Linked DNA regions of Homo sapiens: regions 2 and 3 are each linked to region 1. The links are contacts of gene promoters, found by promoter capture Hi-C in blood cells and fetal thymus (Javierre and others, 2016). All regions are on one chromosome and are shown on one strand. Each heading gives the region's core, a stretch centred on a gene start or on the middle of the fragment in contact. The rest is flanking DNA. Distances are from core to core; before and after follow the strand shown.

Region 1 (5,118 bases), core at 1,593-4,092:
GGCCACCCTCCTTGTTGAGGATCTGGGGAGGTCCTTCTTCTCCCAGCTTCATCTCCAGGCGTTCCTTGGCTATGGCTTCCTATGGCCTCCCTCTGTGTCTGTGTCTCTTTTCTCTTTCTCTCCTTTTTTTTTGAGACAGAGTTTTGCTCTGTCGCCCAGACTGGAGTGCAGTGGTGCAATCTCTGCTCACTGCAGGCTCCGCCCACCGGGTTCACGCCATTCTCCTGCCTCAGCCTCCCGAGCAGCTGGGACTACAGGCGCCCGCCACCTCGCCCGGCTAATTTTTTGTATTTTTAGTAGAGACAGGGTTTCGCTGTGTTAGCCAGGATGGTCTCGATCTCCTGACCTCGTGATCCGCCTGCCTCGGCCTCCCAAAGTGCTGGGATTACAGGCGTGAGCCACCGCGCCCAGCCTTTTTTTTTTTTTTTTTTTTGTGACGGAGTCTTGCTCTGTTGCCCAGGCTGGAGTGCAATGGCGCGATCTCGGCTCACCTCAACCTCCACCTCCCAGGTTCAAGTGATTCTCCTGTCTCAGCCTCCCGAGTAGCTGGGATTACGGGCATGCATCACCACGCCCGGCTAATTTTGTATTTTTAGTAGAGACGGGGTTTCTCCATGTTGATCAGGCTGGTCTCGAACTCCTGATCTCAGGTGATCCACCCTCCTCGGCCTCCCAAAGTGCTGGGATTACAGGCATGAGCCACCGCGCCCGGCCTTCTCTCTTTTTTTGTGTTTTTTGTTTGTCTGTTTGAGACAGAGTCGTACTCTGTTGCCCATGCTGGAGTGCAGTGGCGTGATCTCAGCTCACTGCCAACCTCCCAGGTTCAAGCGATTCTCCTGCCTCAGCCTCCCAAGTAGCTGGGATTACAAGCTCACACTACCATGCCCGGCTGATTTTTTTGTATTTTTAGTAGAGATGGGGTTTCACTATGTTGGCCAGGCTGGCCTCAAACTCCTGGCCTCAGGTGATCTGCCCACCTCGGCCTCCCAGAGTGCTGGGATTACAGGCTTGAGCCACCACACCCGGCCTGTTTTCCCTGTCTTTTATAAGGACACTGATCATTGGATTTAGGGCCCACCCAGAAAGTCCAGGATGATCTCGTTTCAAGATGTTTCCCTTAATGACATCTGCAAAGATGCTTTCTCCCGATGAGGGCACATTTAGGAAGCCTGGGTATTAGGATGTGGATATATCTTCTTTTTGGCGGAGGGACCATCCCACTCACTACAGATGCTGAGAAAAGGTGCCTGTGAAATTGGCAGGACTGGGGGCAGAAGTGGGTTCACGTCAGCAGGGCACGACAGGAACACAGAGCTGCCCTGTCCTCTTGCCCCTTCTTGTCCCCTAGTCTGACTGCCCTAGGAGCCTCTGCCCTGCCATGAAGACGTGGGCCTTCTCAGGGACCCCACTGACTCTTAGAGGCTCCTTCACGACCCACAGGATCGAGGTCTTGCTGACCCCTGACCCCCAATAGAACCGAGTGGCTCCGTGATCCTCTGGGCACCTTCCCCATCCACAGGCAGCCACAGGTGCAAGGAGCCACTCGGTTCTATCGGGGGCCAAGGGTCAAGGGGTCAGCAAGACCTCGGTCATGTCTTGCTGATCATGTCTGAGTCACCCCAGACTCTGCATCTGAATTTTTGTCCCCAGCCTTCAAGCCCCTGAGGACATGGGCTGGTTCGGAAGCTCCCTGGGGCCCCAGCACTTTGCCGCCGGGGCTGGGGCAGGGGGCAGGCTGCGGCCCAGGCCTGCGCGGATGCCGAGGCAGGGAGGTCATGGGGCCAGGGGAGGACAAAGAGCAGGGCGGTGAGTTTAGGGCCAGGGAGCTGAGGGGAGACGGCCCGGGGCCGAGGACCAGGGTGACAGTGCCAAGGGGGGCCGGCGGCCAAATCTCCTTTGGCTGCCACTTTGGAGCCCCACCCCGGAGTCCGATACTTCCACGTCTGAAGCTGGCCCTGCGAGTCCTAACGAAGGTCAAACCGTCAAGGCTCCTTTGATTTTACACGTTTTCAGCGCACAGACAGGATTCTCTCGCCTCGTCCCCTCAAAGACCGGCACAGGGCTGCGAAGACCCCTGAGCCCTTGAGGCACCCCCTCCAGGCTCCAGAGGCTTCCGCGGAGACAGAGCGCGCAGGAGGGACCCAGAGCCCCCAAGGGCGCCCCGTGGGGGTCGCCAGGCAAACCAGGCAGAGCCAGAGCCCCCTCTTCGCCAGCAGGACGGACCCGGGCGTCCTTTGGGGACCCCAAGCCGCCCGGGGGGTGGTGCGTGCGTCCCGAGGACGCCGTGTCCGGGCCCGCGCAGGCCCCACCCGGGTCACGGCCCGGGATACGTGCGCCGGGCGCCCAGCGGGTTGGGGGGGGCGGGCCCGCGGGACGCGGGTGCGGGGCACGGAGGCGGCCGGGTCGTACCACCGCGCCGCGGGAAGAGGGGCAGCTCCCGGCCGGCCCTGCCGCCCCACGCACACCCGCGGGCGGAGGACCCGTCGCCAGGCTGCGCCCCACGCCCAGCCCGGAAGCCCCGCGAGCCCGGGCCATACCACCGCGCGGCGGGAGGAGGACCACCTCGGGCCGTACCATCCGCCCGGCCGGGGGACGCGCCCTGGCCCCGCCGCGCCCTCGCAGCTGGCGCCCCGCAGGCCCCGCCCGGCAGGTGCCGCCCCTCCCCGGGCAGACGTGCAGAAAAGAACGCGCCGGCCTCGCCCGCGAAGGGCCGCGCGGCGGTGGGCGGGGCGTCGCGAACCCCCCTCGCGCCCACTGGCTGCGTTGCGGTAGGGCGGGCCCGGCTAGGCCGGCCATTGGCTGAGGGACCAGGTCATTTGCATACGGGGCTGGGCGTGGAGCCGCGGGGCCCGGGGCCGGTCGGGTCGGGCCGGGGGGCGAGAGGGTGCCAGCGGCCGCAGCTGAAGTTGGGCCGAGAGCCGGCGACGGCCCCGCGCCGGGGTCGCAGGTGACGCGCGAGGGATCCCAGGTTGGCGGGCGGGGCGCCCCTCAGAGGCCGCCCTCCCGCGGGGGCTGCGGGGGGTCGGGCTGGGCAGGCGCGGCGGGGCTCGGACGCCCAAGTTGGAGGGGACGGGGGTGGGGTCAATCCCTCCGCCCGCCCACCCGGCAGTGCCTCCAGGCGCAGGGCAGCCCCTGCCCACCGCACACTGCGCTGCCCCAGACCCACTGTGCGTGTGACAGCGGCTGATCTGTGCCTGGGCAGCGCGACCCTCCTGGCCCCGTGTCCGGGTCTGGCGGGCAGGCGAGCGGCCACACGGGGACGCGAGGGCAGCTGGATACCGTGGGGAGGGGGTGCCCTATGGACGGGGTGTGCCTGTCTGGCCAGCAGGGACGGCGGGTGGGGGTAAGCGAAATCATTCGGGGGCTTTGCTGCCCTCCGCTTGGTGGGGCTGAGGCTGGGCCAGATACCCTCTTGGAGGGAACTTTCTTTTCCTTGTGTGTCCAGGGTACCAGTGTGCGGAGTTCCTGTTGCCAAGCTGAAGGTGGCCCTGGGCAGGCACAGGTGTGGTCATATCTTCAGCCAACAGGACCATCCTCCGGAGGGCCACCTCTGGGGACTTCCTACGGGAAGAGAGTGACAGATTTGGTGCTTCTGTGTGTTTCTGCCGCTTCAGTGGGGCCGCTGCGGGAGACAGCGGGTGGATCCTCCAGCAGCCTGTCTGCTGAGCCTGCCTTCTCAAGTCTACTGTTAAAATCAGGACCGGGTCGTGTCCGAGCCTACAGGCCCTGTCTCCGCTCCCCAGGCCTGCAGGAGTTGAGGGCTGCACCTGCTCGCTGGAGAGGGAGAGGCAGATTTAGTGGACGCCTGGCATGGACTCGGACTGGCCTTTGGAAGCTCCCTGCCCTGACGGGGTTGCCTGTCACCACTGCGAAGTGAGGCTTGGCAGGACCTGCACCTGAGAAAGGCTGTGTGTGGTCTTGGGGTCCACACCTGCAGAGCTAACTTACTGCCAGACGGCGACTTACTGTGGGCCACCCTCAGTGAACCGGGGTGTCCTCAGCTGGCCCTACAGAGCACTTCTGTGCTGGGGATGAGTAGGAACTCTGGGCGAGGAGGGTCCCAGCGCCGCCCCTCGATACAGCCTGGCTCTGCCCTCTGCCCGTACTTACACCAGGTGGGATCCCTGCCCTGCATTGCCTGGGGATTGGCTGGGCTTGGGCCCGCCCTGCTGTGGAACTGGATGTTTTCAGGGAGCCCAGCCTTTCCTCATGTCAACACAGTTCACAATATAGTTTTCAAAGTACAGTTTAAAACTCAAAAGTAAACTTTTCAGCAACTCAAAGGTTTGCTGAGTGATCTGAAGCACTCTGGCCACTTTTTGGGGCCATGGGATTTGGTTCACCTGAAACAGCCAGTGAGAGGCCGGGTGTGGTGGCTCACACCCGTAATCCCAACACTTCAGGAGGCAGACGCGGGTGATCGCTCACTTGAGATCAGGAGTTCAAGACCAGCCTGGGCAACATGGTGAAACCTCGTCTCTACTAAAAATACAAAAATTAGCTAGGCATGGTGGTGGGCACCTGTAATCCCAGCTACTTGGAAGGCTGAGGCAAGAGAATCGCTTGAACCTGGGAGGTGGAGGTTGCAGCGAGACGAGATTACGCCGCTGCACTCCAGCCTGGGTGACGAGAGACTCTGCCTCAAAAAAATAAAAAAATGAAACAGCCAGTGAGGAGGAAGGCTCCCCGCCTTCCCCCCGCCGGAACATAGCCATAGCTGCTGCTGGGACACCCTCTTGGTGGGGAAGAAGGCTGGTTAGCTTCATCAGAGCCAGCAGCAGCAGACCAGGGACGGGCACCTAGGCAGTGGCCTCAGAGTGAACAGGAGTTCCTCAGAAACACACACAGGGACGGCGTGGCGCATGCTCTGCCAGCTCCATGCCTCCTTCCCATTGTGGGGCTGGGGTACGTAGGGCAGAGCTCATGACCTCCGGGAGGACATGGGGGTGGGCTCTGGATGGCACCTGGCATTGCCCCCTGCTGGCCTATGTGACGGTGTGGAGGGCTGGTCACAGAGGTACGACCATCCCTCCAGAATGTGGGTCGGGGCTGTGGATGGAGGAGTAGGCCCCTCATATCCCAGGCCTGCTGCCCAGGCACAACCCACTTGGCCTATGC
Region 2 (5,118 bases), core at 1,334-3,833, 360 kb before region 1:
TCCACAGGTATACGTTCCAAGGCACTCAGTGGGTGCCTGAAACTTCAGATGATACTAAATCCTATACAAGCTGCTTTTTTCCCACACATACCTATGAAAAAGTCTAACTTACAGATTAGGCACAGTAAGAGATTAACAGAAGCCAATAATAAAAAAGAACTGTAATGATATACTGTAATAAAAGTTATATGAATGTGGTCTCTTTAAATATCTTATTGTACTATGCTCACCTATTTTCAGATCACCAGAGGTAACTGAAACCTCAGAAGGTGAAACCACAAATAAGGGAGGACGGCTATACCGCACTCACTGTGGTAGGCGCCATCCTGTCAAACGCAGGCCCTGGCACAGACAATATATCTGACAAGTGGGTGACTTGCTGTCTGAGGAAATGGCTTTCAATCTCATTGTCCTGCCTAACGCAATTTTCTTCAAAAATGGAAGGACAGACATCATAGCGCATTTAAGGGTACTCAGTCTTTGTCCCAGAGGTCCCCTTAAGAAATAATACACACACTTAGTTTTACAAAATGCATGTTGGTCTCATTATGTAACAAACAAAGAGAAAAAATGCTACTCGTAAAAGTGCTGATCTGAGGGTGTTTCTAAGCCTTTTTTTTTTTTTTTTTTTTTTTTGTGAGAAAGGTCTCACTCTGTCACCCAGGCTGGAGTATGGCGCGATCTCAGCTCACTGCAGCCTTAACCTCCTGGGGTCAAGTGATCCTCCTCTCTCAGCCTCCCAAGTAGCTGGGACTATAGATGTGTACACCAATACGCCCAGCTAATTTTCGTATTTTTTTGTAGAGACAGGGTGTTACCACATTGCCCAGGCTGGTCTCAAACTTCTGGGCTCAAAAGATCCACCTGCCTCAGCCTCCCAAAATGCTGGGACTATAGGTTTGAGCCACCGCACCCAGCTCTATGCTTTTTTTTTTTTTTTTTAACAGAGTACAGGAAGGGTTAGATGGTCCTCTACCCTTCCACAGAGTGTGGGAGAACCACTATCCTCCTGATCCTCCATCCCGTCTAAGGAGATGAGAATTCAAAGGGAAGATCACAACAGTCCCTCAAAATACACATTAAAAATTATGAGGGTGCCGTGGCTCACGCCAGTAACCCCAGGACTTTGGGAGGCCAAGACAGGTGGATCACTTGAGCTCAGGATTTCGAGACCAGCCTAGGCAACATGGCGAGACCCCCCCATCTCTACAAAAAACACGAAAATCAGCCAGGCATGGTGGTGGTGCACGCTTGTAGTCCCAGTGACTCCGGAGGCTGAGGTGGTAGGATCACTTGAGGTGGGAGGTTGAGTGCGCCGTGATGGAACTACTGCGCTCCAGCCTGAGAGCCAGAGCAAGACCCTGTCTCAAAAAAAAGAAAAACAAAAATCATGAAGTCAACTATTTGCTGGATAACAAGGAAAAAAATCAACGCAGCAGACAGGAAACTGGCTTTGTTTCTCCCTCAAATTAAATAAGGAGATGGCCTCTGAAAGCCAAGAGGAGGTTCTGCACACCAAAGTCAAATTAATTGGTGGACCGGTGCACCCACCCAGCCACCCTGCACATCCTTCTAACAGGCCCAGCCTTCCTGGCTTGTTTAACGGTTTGGTGTGGATTTTTCCCACCCCGAGGGGACAGGCACGGGGCTGAGAACGAGGTCTGTGATTGGAGCAGCAGGCAGCGAGGCCATCCCACACCCCGACTGCTGCTCGTGTCCAGATTCCCTCCGGGAATGAGTCATTTTAATCGTCGTAGGTGAGATCTAATCAGGGGTTAATAAGCCTCCAGAACCCAGGTCACAAAGCTGTTTCCTGGGAAGACACTGATTTCCAGATTTCTGCTCCCAAAGCTAAAATCCACGCCGTTTTGGAAAACGCTGGGTTAAACGCTCCAGTACTAGAAAGACCAAGGTGACATCATGCTGGGGAGGGGCGTCTTGGCCCGGAACCCCCTTGGTGGTGCCGCAGCCCCCCGCACGGACCAGCAAACGGGAGTGGAGATGTGGATGAAGGGCCGTGCCCTAAACCCCTAGACCCCGCACCCCTAGACCCTGGACACCCCACCCCGCACCCCCAGACCCAGGGCCCCGCTCTGCATCCTGACCCGCACCCCCATACCCGATACCCCAAGACTCTGAGCGCCGCCCGCACCCCCAGACCCTGGACCCCCACCCCGCACCCTGGCCCCCACCCCCAGACCCGGTACCCCAAGACCCCGAGCGCCGCCCGCACCCTCAGGCCCCGGGCCCCGCCCGCATCCCAGCCTGCACCCCCGCCTCGAGGCCCCGCCCCGGGCCTCCGCTCCCAGACCCCGTCTCCGCCGGCGGCCCCGGCCCCGGCCCCACGCCGCCCCCGCCACTCACAGTTGCGGATATCCGAGATGAAGACCGCCAGGCCCCGCATCCCGTCCCCCTTGGACACGGCCGGCATCTTCCGACGCTCGGGAGCGGCCTCGGCTGGCGGACCCGGGCGGAGGAGCGCGGGGAGCGGGAAGCGGGGAGTGCGGTCGCCGTCACCGCCGCGGAGGAGCCGCCGGGGAGCCGCCTAACCACGGCCGCCTCAGGGTCCCAGCGCCGCTTTCTGGGCCGCCGCGCGCGCGCACGTACGGCGCCCGCACCAGCACGCACGCGCACGCACGCGAGCGACGACGGACGGCGGCCGGGGCGGGTGTCGCGTGAGGCAGCGCGCGCGCGTCCGCGGCACGGGGGCGAGCCGGTCGAGGCAGGCGCGGGGGCGCCCCCTGCAGGCGGACACCATGGACGGAGCCGCTGAAGCCACGCGTTCGCGTCCCGGGGCCGCGCCAAGCTGGCGATGCCGCCCGCGTCCCCCACGGGAAGGGCGTGGGTCCGGGCGGGAACCCGCGTGTGCAGCGGGCCGCCTCTGTCGTTGTTGGTGGTCACTGCAAAAGAGGCGGCCACGCAGGCACACGCGTACGGCCTCGTCCTGGGCCTCGGCCCCGCTAGCTTGCCCCGAGCAGTCTCCGTTTTCTTACTTGGAATAAACGACCTGTGAGCGCTGGGCGGCGGGGCAGCTCCGAGGCCAGGGCCTTGTTTGTTCCGCGGGGGCCGGGGCGGGAGGGCGGCGCCGGGAGGAAGCTGGGGCTCCAGGCGAAGGGGTCACAGCCGCTGGACGGCCTTTGGCGAGGAAACCCTCCCCTAGCACGGTATCCTGAGACGGTGGGGCTGGCCCGCCCCTCCTGCCGCCCTGAGCCGCCAGGGCCACATCTCTTGCGGTCCCTGAGCTGGGGGCGAGGCAGGCCCCGTGCCCGACCCAGCCCAGGGTCTGTGTGGCAGCCCAGGTGCCCCCTCCACATCACCTGGGCCTGCAGAGAAACAACCACCCACCCCACCCCAGTGACAGCGGCCGGGGGCGGCAGCCCCTGCGGAATCTAGTCCCTCGGCGGCGCCAGGACTTTTGGCCACTGTTGCCAGGGCCCCCTCTGCTCCCCAGCCCTCTGCACCACTGCAAGCTGGAGGCCTAGGCCCACCCCTGTGGACACATCGCAAGGGAGGACCTGCTGGGCCAGGCTGCACAGCTCCAGGTCCCGGCCAGGAAGAGACCCCAGGGAGTGGGGAAGCAGATGGCCCTGCCTCACTGTCCTTCCCAGAGCCAGATGGCTTTGAACAGGAAGCTCCCTCCTGCTGCAGTGGGGGGATCTGGACCCTGTACCTGGAACTGGCCCAGACCCACCAGCCAGGGCTTTGTCCCCACCCTGGCTCACTTCCGCAGCCCCAGATGAGAGCTTAGCCCTGGTGGAGCCCGGCCAGGAGGAGGGCACAGGACCCATGCCCCTCCCCAATGAACCGGGTGCCGCACCCAGGCTCTGGGCCTCCAGAACTCCTGGGGAAAACCAAGATCTGTGACAGACCCCAGTCAGCATAAGGCAACCAAGTCCATCACTTCCCAAGACAGAGGCACGGAGCCGACCCAGCAGAGGGCTTCCTGGAGGACGGTACACCCCTCCGGAGTCCCTATCCTCTCCCAGTGCCACCTCCTGGCAGAGAAAGTGGTCCCGGGGCTGTTCATTCTTCAGCCTCTCCCTTCCACCAAGAAGCTTCCCTCCCCTGTCCCTGACAACAAATAAAGGCCATTCTGGACACAAGAGCATCTTGTGCCATGTGAGGGGTCCTGGGCTGCTCTCCAGGACAGTCCCAGCAGTCACGAGGACCGTCCACTAACACACGTGGGCAGAGCATGGGCTCTGGGCGTCAGGAGGCTGGCATGCCTAATCCAAGCTCCCATTGGCAGTGGCAGTGCAGAAGACCGAGACAAGCAGACCACTGTGCCCCCCCACCAGCAGCCACTCACAGAGCAGGGCAATGGGGGTGCTGCAGGGGCTGCCCACAGGAGGGCTTGGGCCTGGCAGGCATCCCCCTCCGCCCACTCGGAAGACTCCTCCTCAGTGCCAGCTCTGGGATTCCCACAGACATCCTCCCGTCCACACAAGAGTGTTTAGGGGTCCCAGAAGGCCCGACATGCAGCCATGCAAAAGACTTCCCACCTCCTTCCAGCGTCGTTGCCCTTGCAGACACGCAAGCCCTCCAGATGATTCACTCCAGTCCCAGCCTTGGGTCTGAGTCCATGTGGGCCTCTCTGACCACTGCCACTCCTCGGCTCGGGAGAGGCCAGCTTCGGGAGTGCGCAGTCCTAGGAAACAGTTTCTTTTTCTTTATTTTATTTTTTGTAGTGATGGCATTTCACCACGGTGCCCAGGCCGGTCTTGAACTCCTGTAATCCCAGCATTCCGCCTGCCTGTGTCTCCCAAAGTGCTGGGATTACAGATGCAAGCCACTATGCCTGGCCTATTTATTTATTTATTTATGTTTAATTTTAGAGACAGGGTTTCTCCCTTTGACTCCCAGGCTGGAGTGCAGTGGTACAATCATGAATCACTACAGCCTCGACCTTCTGGGCTCAAACCATCCTCCTGCCTTGGCTCCCAAAGTGCTTAGACTGCAGGTGCACGCCACCACACCTGGCTAAGTTTCTGATTTTTGTGGAGATGGAGTCTCACTATGTTGCCCAGGCTGGTCTTGAACTCCTGGGCTCAAGCAGTCCTCCTGCCTTGGCTTCCCAAAGTGCTGAGATTACAAGCCACTGTGCCTAGCCTCAGTATC
Region 3 (5,118 bases), core at 1,755-4,254, 330 kb after region 1:
TGTTTGAATCCTCTTCTGCCACTTATCAGCAGTGATCTATGGTAAGTTACTTAAAGTCTTATGTTTGCTTCTACATCAAAAAAGTGAGATAGTAGTATCTACTGACCAGCGTTGTCATGAAGGATATGTGAAGCGCTCAGACCAGTACCTGACGTAAAGTGACTGCTGAATATTGGAGCTTATTATTATTATTAGCATAAAGCCTATCTTATTTTCAAAAGTCCTTGAGCACATTCATATAATCTAATCTGGTATAGCAAATTATTTACCTTAATGAGACCATCTCCTTGGGCAAAGCACGGATCCTGCACAAAATCAAGCACCTGAAGTGTCAGCTGATGCCACAACCTGAAAAACATACAGCCCTTAAGACCTCTAACCTAATATCCAGTCACAGACACCTCCAGCCTTGATGATTCTATCAAGTCACAAATACAGGTTGGGTATCTCTAATCCAAAACTCCAAAACTCCAAAATTCAAAATGCTCCAAAATCCAAAACTTTTTGAGCACCAACATAGGGCTCAAAGGAAATGACCACTGGAGCATCTCAGATTTCAGATTTTTGATTTATGGATACTGAACGGGTAAGTATATATCGCAAATATTTCAAAATTTGAAAAAATACTAAATCCAAAAAAACTTTTGCCCCAATGCATTTCTTTCTTTCTTTTTTGAGACAGAGTCTGACTCTGTTGCCCAGGCTGTAGTGCAGTGGCGCCATCTCGGCTCACTGCAACCTCTGCCTCCCAGGATCAAGTGATTCTCCTGCCTCAGCCTCCCGAGTAGCAGGGATTACAGGCATGAGCCACTGCGCCCGGCCGCCCCAATGCATTTCTGATAAGGGATACTAAATCCATACTAACCAGTCTCTACGGTGTAGCAGAAAGAATGCTAAAGCAGATGTGATAAACCTGAGTTCTTTTCCTGGCTCTGCTATTGAATGGCTATGTCACTTTGAGATCACTTAACTTCTCTAAGACTCAGTTTTCCCAGGTATGAAATGGAGAACATTAATCTAGATTAACTCAAAGGGTTATTGTGAGGTTTCACTGGAAACGAGAACTTTGGAATCATACATATCTAACTTGAGATGCTGGCTCTTCTACCTATTAGCTGAGTATCTCAGGGAAGGCAATTAAAATGAGCTTCAGTTTCCTCCTCTGTGAAAAGGATGAATAAAGGATTAAATAAGCTAATATTTAAAACCTCAGGGACAGTGACATAGCGCTTCATCCAAAACCCAAAGGCTAATATTTAATAACGCAGATAAAATGCTTTGAAAATTACCAAGTGCTATCCAACACAAACCATTATTTGCCAAACATTAATTTGCTCTCAAAAACTGCTAATAGCAGAAGGCTGCTGAATGCTAAACATCATCAAAACATGTATGGAACATCTATGTGAAAGGTATTATATTAAATGCTAGGGTTAACAGGGAGGTTACTACAGGAGATGTATTTTCTATGGAATAGCTCCAGCCCAATGCCAGCAATTTATTCTACTCATATTAAAAGGAGGTTAGTGCTTAGCAAGAATTTAATTGCTCTGCAATTCATCCTGTTTCTAAACAAACCTAAACTTTAAGATCTTTCTAGGGGCAGAAAGCCCATGAGAAATACAATGGAAGGTAAAGACAATGGGACGGCGGAAGTGGTTGCACCCCGTGCAACCAGCTGCAGAATGAATAGGGAAAACAGCAAAGCTGTACTAGCCTCTGGTTTATCAACTCCAGACCATGAGAAAGATAACTGTAGATACAGTTACACTATGACAAGGCTAAGCACGAATCACCAACATGTTTCCCAAAGTGGGTGGTGGCCCTGAAAGTGTGTTTGCTTGTTAGATGGAATCAAGAGCTAAAATCAAAGGCTACTCCTGAACCGTTTTAGTAAGACCCGAGGTAGGAGTTCAGAAGCCTCAGTCTCAGTCCCCCGTTAAGGAAGCAGTGAATCTCAGACCGAAACATCCTGGCTACAGCTCTTGGCCCTCGTGGTCTGTCATCCCTCTTATTCCTCGACCCTGCCACTCAAGGTTCCTCAGCAAACCTTGCCGGCACAGCCGGTCGCTACACGTCCCCGTTTCCCCCCAACTTGGGTCTGGGCGCCCTCAGCCCATCAAGGGTCCGCTCCTCCGCCCGCCTGCCCCCTCCGTCTCCCTCTATCGCCGGGGCCCAGGGCCCGTCTGCTCGGCGCTCACTTCTTCGTGTAGAGCTCCTCCAGACGGTGCCACACAGCGGGCTGCCCGGGCCCGGAGTTCTGGCTCTGCTGTAGGAAGCCCGGTACGTCCTTCATGACAGCAGGAAGACCCCCGGCACAGAAGAACAACCGGGATGTCAGCACCGCGGGGATGGCTGCCGGAAATGCTCACTCACTTCCGGCGCCGAGCGGCGCGGGGCAGGCTGGGAGCGCCGTAGCAGGCCGGGGGCGGGCCCCGCTGGTTGCTCGGTTACAGCGCGTCTCTGCGCTCCGGACAAAACTCTCCGGCGTTTGCAGCCCACTTCCCGCGCACTTGGCTGTGCCATTGAGGCGTCAAAGAGTGTGGGCGCCTGTGGTCGAACCCGCTACGGACTAGCTTTGTGGTGTCAGCCTTTGTGACCCGGAATTGCTCCTGTCAAATGAGGATCTTCCCAGTAGTGTTTTGCGAGGATTAGGTGTAAATATAATGCCTGACCATAGTAAAAGCGCTCAGAAAGTATTAACTATCACCGCCATCCGGGTTGAAAAAGGTGTGAGCGCAGGGTACAGAAATGCTGGCTCCAGGTTTGACCTCCGGGGCGAGAGATGAGACACCAGACTAGGGAACTTCCTCTACTCGCCTCTACGTCTACCTGGGCGCGCCGGAGGCGTCGGCAAGGAGGCGGGGGCGGGGCGCGGAGGCGGGACCGGGGCGCCGGGGGCGGGGGCGGTAGGCGGAGGCGGGGCTGGGGCGCCGGGGGCGGGGGTGGGAGGCGGAGGCGGGGCCGGGGCGCCGGGGGCGGGGCGAGTCCGGAGGACTCCTTGGACTGCGCGGAACATGGCGTTCTGGGGTTGGCGCGCCGCGGCAGCCCTCCGGCTGTGGGGCCGGGTAGTTGAACGGGTCGAGGCCGGGGGAGGCGTGGGGCCGTTTCAGGCCTGCGGCTGTCGGCTGGTGCTTGGCGGCAGGGACGATGTGAGTGCGGGGCTGAGAGGCAGCCATGGGGCCCGCGGTGAGCCCTTGGACCCGGCGCGCCCCTTGCAGAGGCCTCCCAGACCCGAGGTGCCCAGGGCATTCCGGAGGCAGCCGAGGGCAGCAGCTCCCAGTTTCTTCTTTTCGAGGTATTTTGGGCAAGGACAAGCACTTCTTGCGTGTTCGTTGTCGACACCTCGCCCACTCTTTCTCACCTTGCCGTGTTTCCTTTGCGGCATGTCTGGGAGTTTACGTGCGTTCCAACACCGGGGCCTCCGTCTTTATGCTGATCTGTGGACGTCACTTATGGGGGTTTTGTCGTTTATTTCACCATTCCCTCATTGAAATACGTTCTAACCTTTAGTTATTGTGCATCATGCTGTGGTGAATAACCTTGTTGGCACCTCACTGTTTGCATAAATTCCTAGTACTGGGATTGCTAGGTCCAAAAGTATATGCATTTAACGCTTTAATGATCCCTCATAAATGTTGTGCGGTTAATACTCCCACTGGCATGTGATCGTACCCGTCTCCATAGTAATTGCATCTAAGAACTGAGGCTACATAGGAAAAAATCTTAAGGTCCATGGTTGTTAGGTATCAGATGCCCTATAATGGATGAATATTTAAGTAAATAATGGCACATTGACTTGCTGTCTGACACAACTGCTGAAAATGTTGGTGAAAAGTGAGTCTCGAAGTGGTAGCTCACACTTGTAATACCAGCACTTTCGGAGGCTGAGACGGGGATCGCTCGAGGCCAGGAGTTCAAGAGCAGCCTGGGCAACATAACGAGACCCCCATCTCTACCAAAAATTTAAAAATTAGCCGGGCATGGTGGCGCAAGCCTGTTGTCCCAGTTACTCCTGAGACTAAGGCAAGAGGATCCCTTGAGTCCAGGAGTTCAAGGCTGCAGTGAGCTATGATTGAGCCACTGCACTCCAGCCTGGGTGACAGAGCAAGACTCTTATCTACCTGTGGGAAAAAAAAAAGAAAAAAGTTTAATAGATCCTGAAGAGTTGGCCGGGCGCGGTAGCTCACGCCTGTAATCCCAGCACTTTGGGAGGATGAGACGGGTGGATAACGAGGTCAGGAGTTCGAGACCAGCTGGGCCAACATGGTGAAACCCCATTTCTACTGAAATTACAAAAATTAGCCGGGCGTGGTGGCGGGCGCCTGTAATCCTAGCTACTCAGGAGGCGGAGGCAGGAGAATCACTTGAACCCGGAAGGCAGAGGTTGCAGTGAGCCGAGATGGCACCATTGCACTCCAGCCCGGGCGAAAGAGCAAAAACTCCGTCTCAAAAAAAAACAAAGATCCCGAAGAGTCAGTCGTTCATCCAAGAAGCCCTGACTGAGCTCTTATTCTGTGCCAGACTCTGTTCTAGGTGCTATGGATGGAGCAGGGACCAGGACCTACAAACACGTGGAGCGCATTCTAATATCTGTGATACTCTGCAAAACTGTTAAAACAAATCCTTGCGGCCGGGCGCGGTGGCTCACGCCTGTAATTCCAGCACTTTGGAAGGCCGAGACGGGCGGATCACGAGGTCAGGAGATCGAGACCATCCTGGCTAACACAGTGAAACCCCGTCTTTACTAAAAATACAAGGAAATTAGCCAGGCGTGGTGGCGGGTGCCTGTAGTCCCAGCTACTCGGGAGGCTGAGGCAGGAGAATGGCGTGAACCTGGGAGGCGGAGCTTGCAGTGAGCCGAGATCGCGACACTGCACTCCAGCCTGGGCAACAGAGCGAGACTCCGTCTCAAAACAAAACAAAACAAAACAAAACAAAAATCCTTGCTACCACTGGCCCTAAAGCAGGAGGCATAGGGCTGCGTGTGAGGAGTAGTCCATTGCATGGGCTTCCTCCAGTTTGGCTTTGGATTTTTGAGCTCTCTGAATTTGTTGTTTGTGTCCTTTGCACAGTGTCCCTCCCAGGTTGCACCCATGCCTGCCCCTCAGGGTCCCC

The links. Contacts are between HindIII fragments. The CHiCAGO score rates a contact against its expected background, and 5 or more counts as called.
Region 2: the fragment with the promoter of AP2A2 here is called in contact with the fragment with the promoter of MIR210HG in region 1 in 1 of 17 cell types (neutrophils); the score reaches 7.7 in neutrophils.
Region 3: a contact is called between the fragment with the promoter of SIRT3 here and the fragment with the promoter of MIR210HG in region 1, in 1 of 17 cell types (erythroblasts). The highest score is 5.6, in erythroblasts.

Annotation. Positions count from the first base shown.
Region 1 is chr11:566,181-571,298 of GRCh38, reverse strand. MIR210HG (MIR210 host gene) reads left to right here and starts at 2,842. Exons shown (of 2, transcript NR_038262.1): 1 at 2,842-2,947; 2 at 3,446-5,118. It overlaps MIR210 (microRNA 210), which reads left to right and starts at 3,101; the gene lies at 3,101-3,210. RefSeq lists enhancers at 1,160-1,910, 4,496-5,050, 5,051-5,118. The HindIII fragment of the contact is 23,407 bases long and covers 1-5,118 here.
Region 2 is chr11:923,335-928,452 of GRCh38, reverse strand. It overlaps AP2A2 (adaptor related protein complex 2 subunit alpha 2), which reads right to left and starts at 2,583. Exons shown (of 22, transcript NM_012305.4): 1 at 2,365-2,583. The coding sequence starts at 2,431. RefSeq lists a silencer at 2,232-2,771. The HindIII fragment of the contact is 10,180 bases long and covers 1-4,057 here.
Region 3 is chr11:234,228-239,345 of GRCh38, reverse strand. It overlaps SIRT3 (sirtuin 3), which reads left to right and starts at 3,004. Exons shown (of 7, transcript NM_012239.6): 1 at 3,004-3,298. The coding sequence starts at 3,018. PSMD13 (proteasome 26S subunit, non-ATPase 13) reads right to left here and starts at 2,370. Exons shown (of 13, transcript NM_002817.4): 1 at 2,202-2,370; 2 at 270-348. The coding sequence starts at 2,296. RefSeq lists enhancers at 2,119-2,358, 2,519-2,708 and a silencer at 2,859-2,938. The HindIII fragment of the contact is 9,250 bases long and covers 1-5,118 here.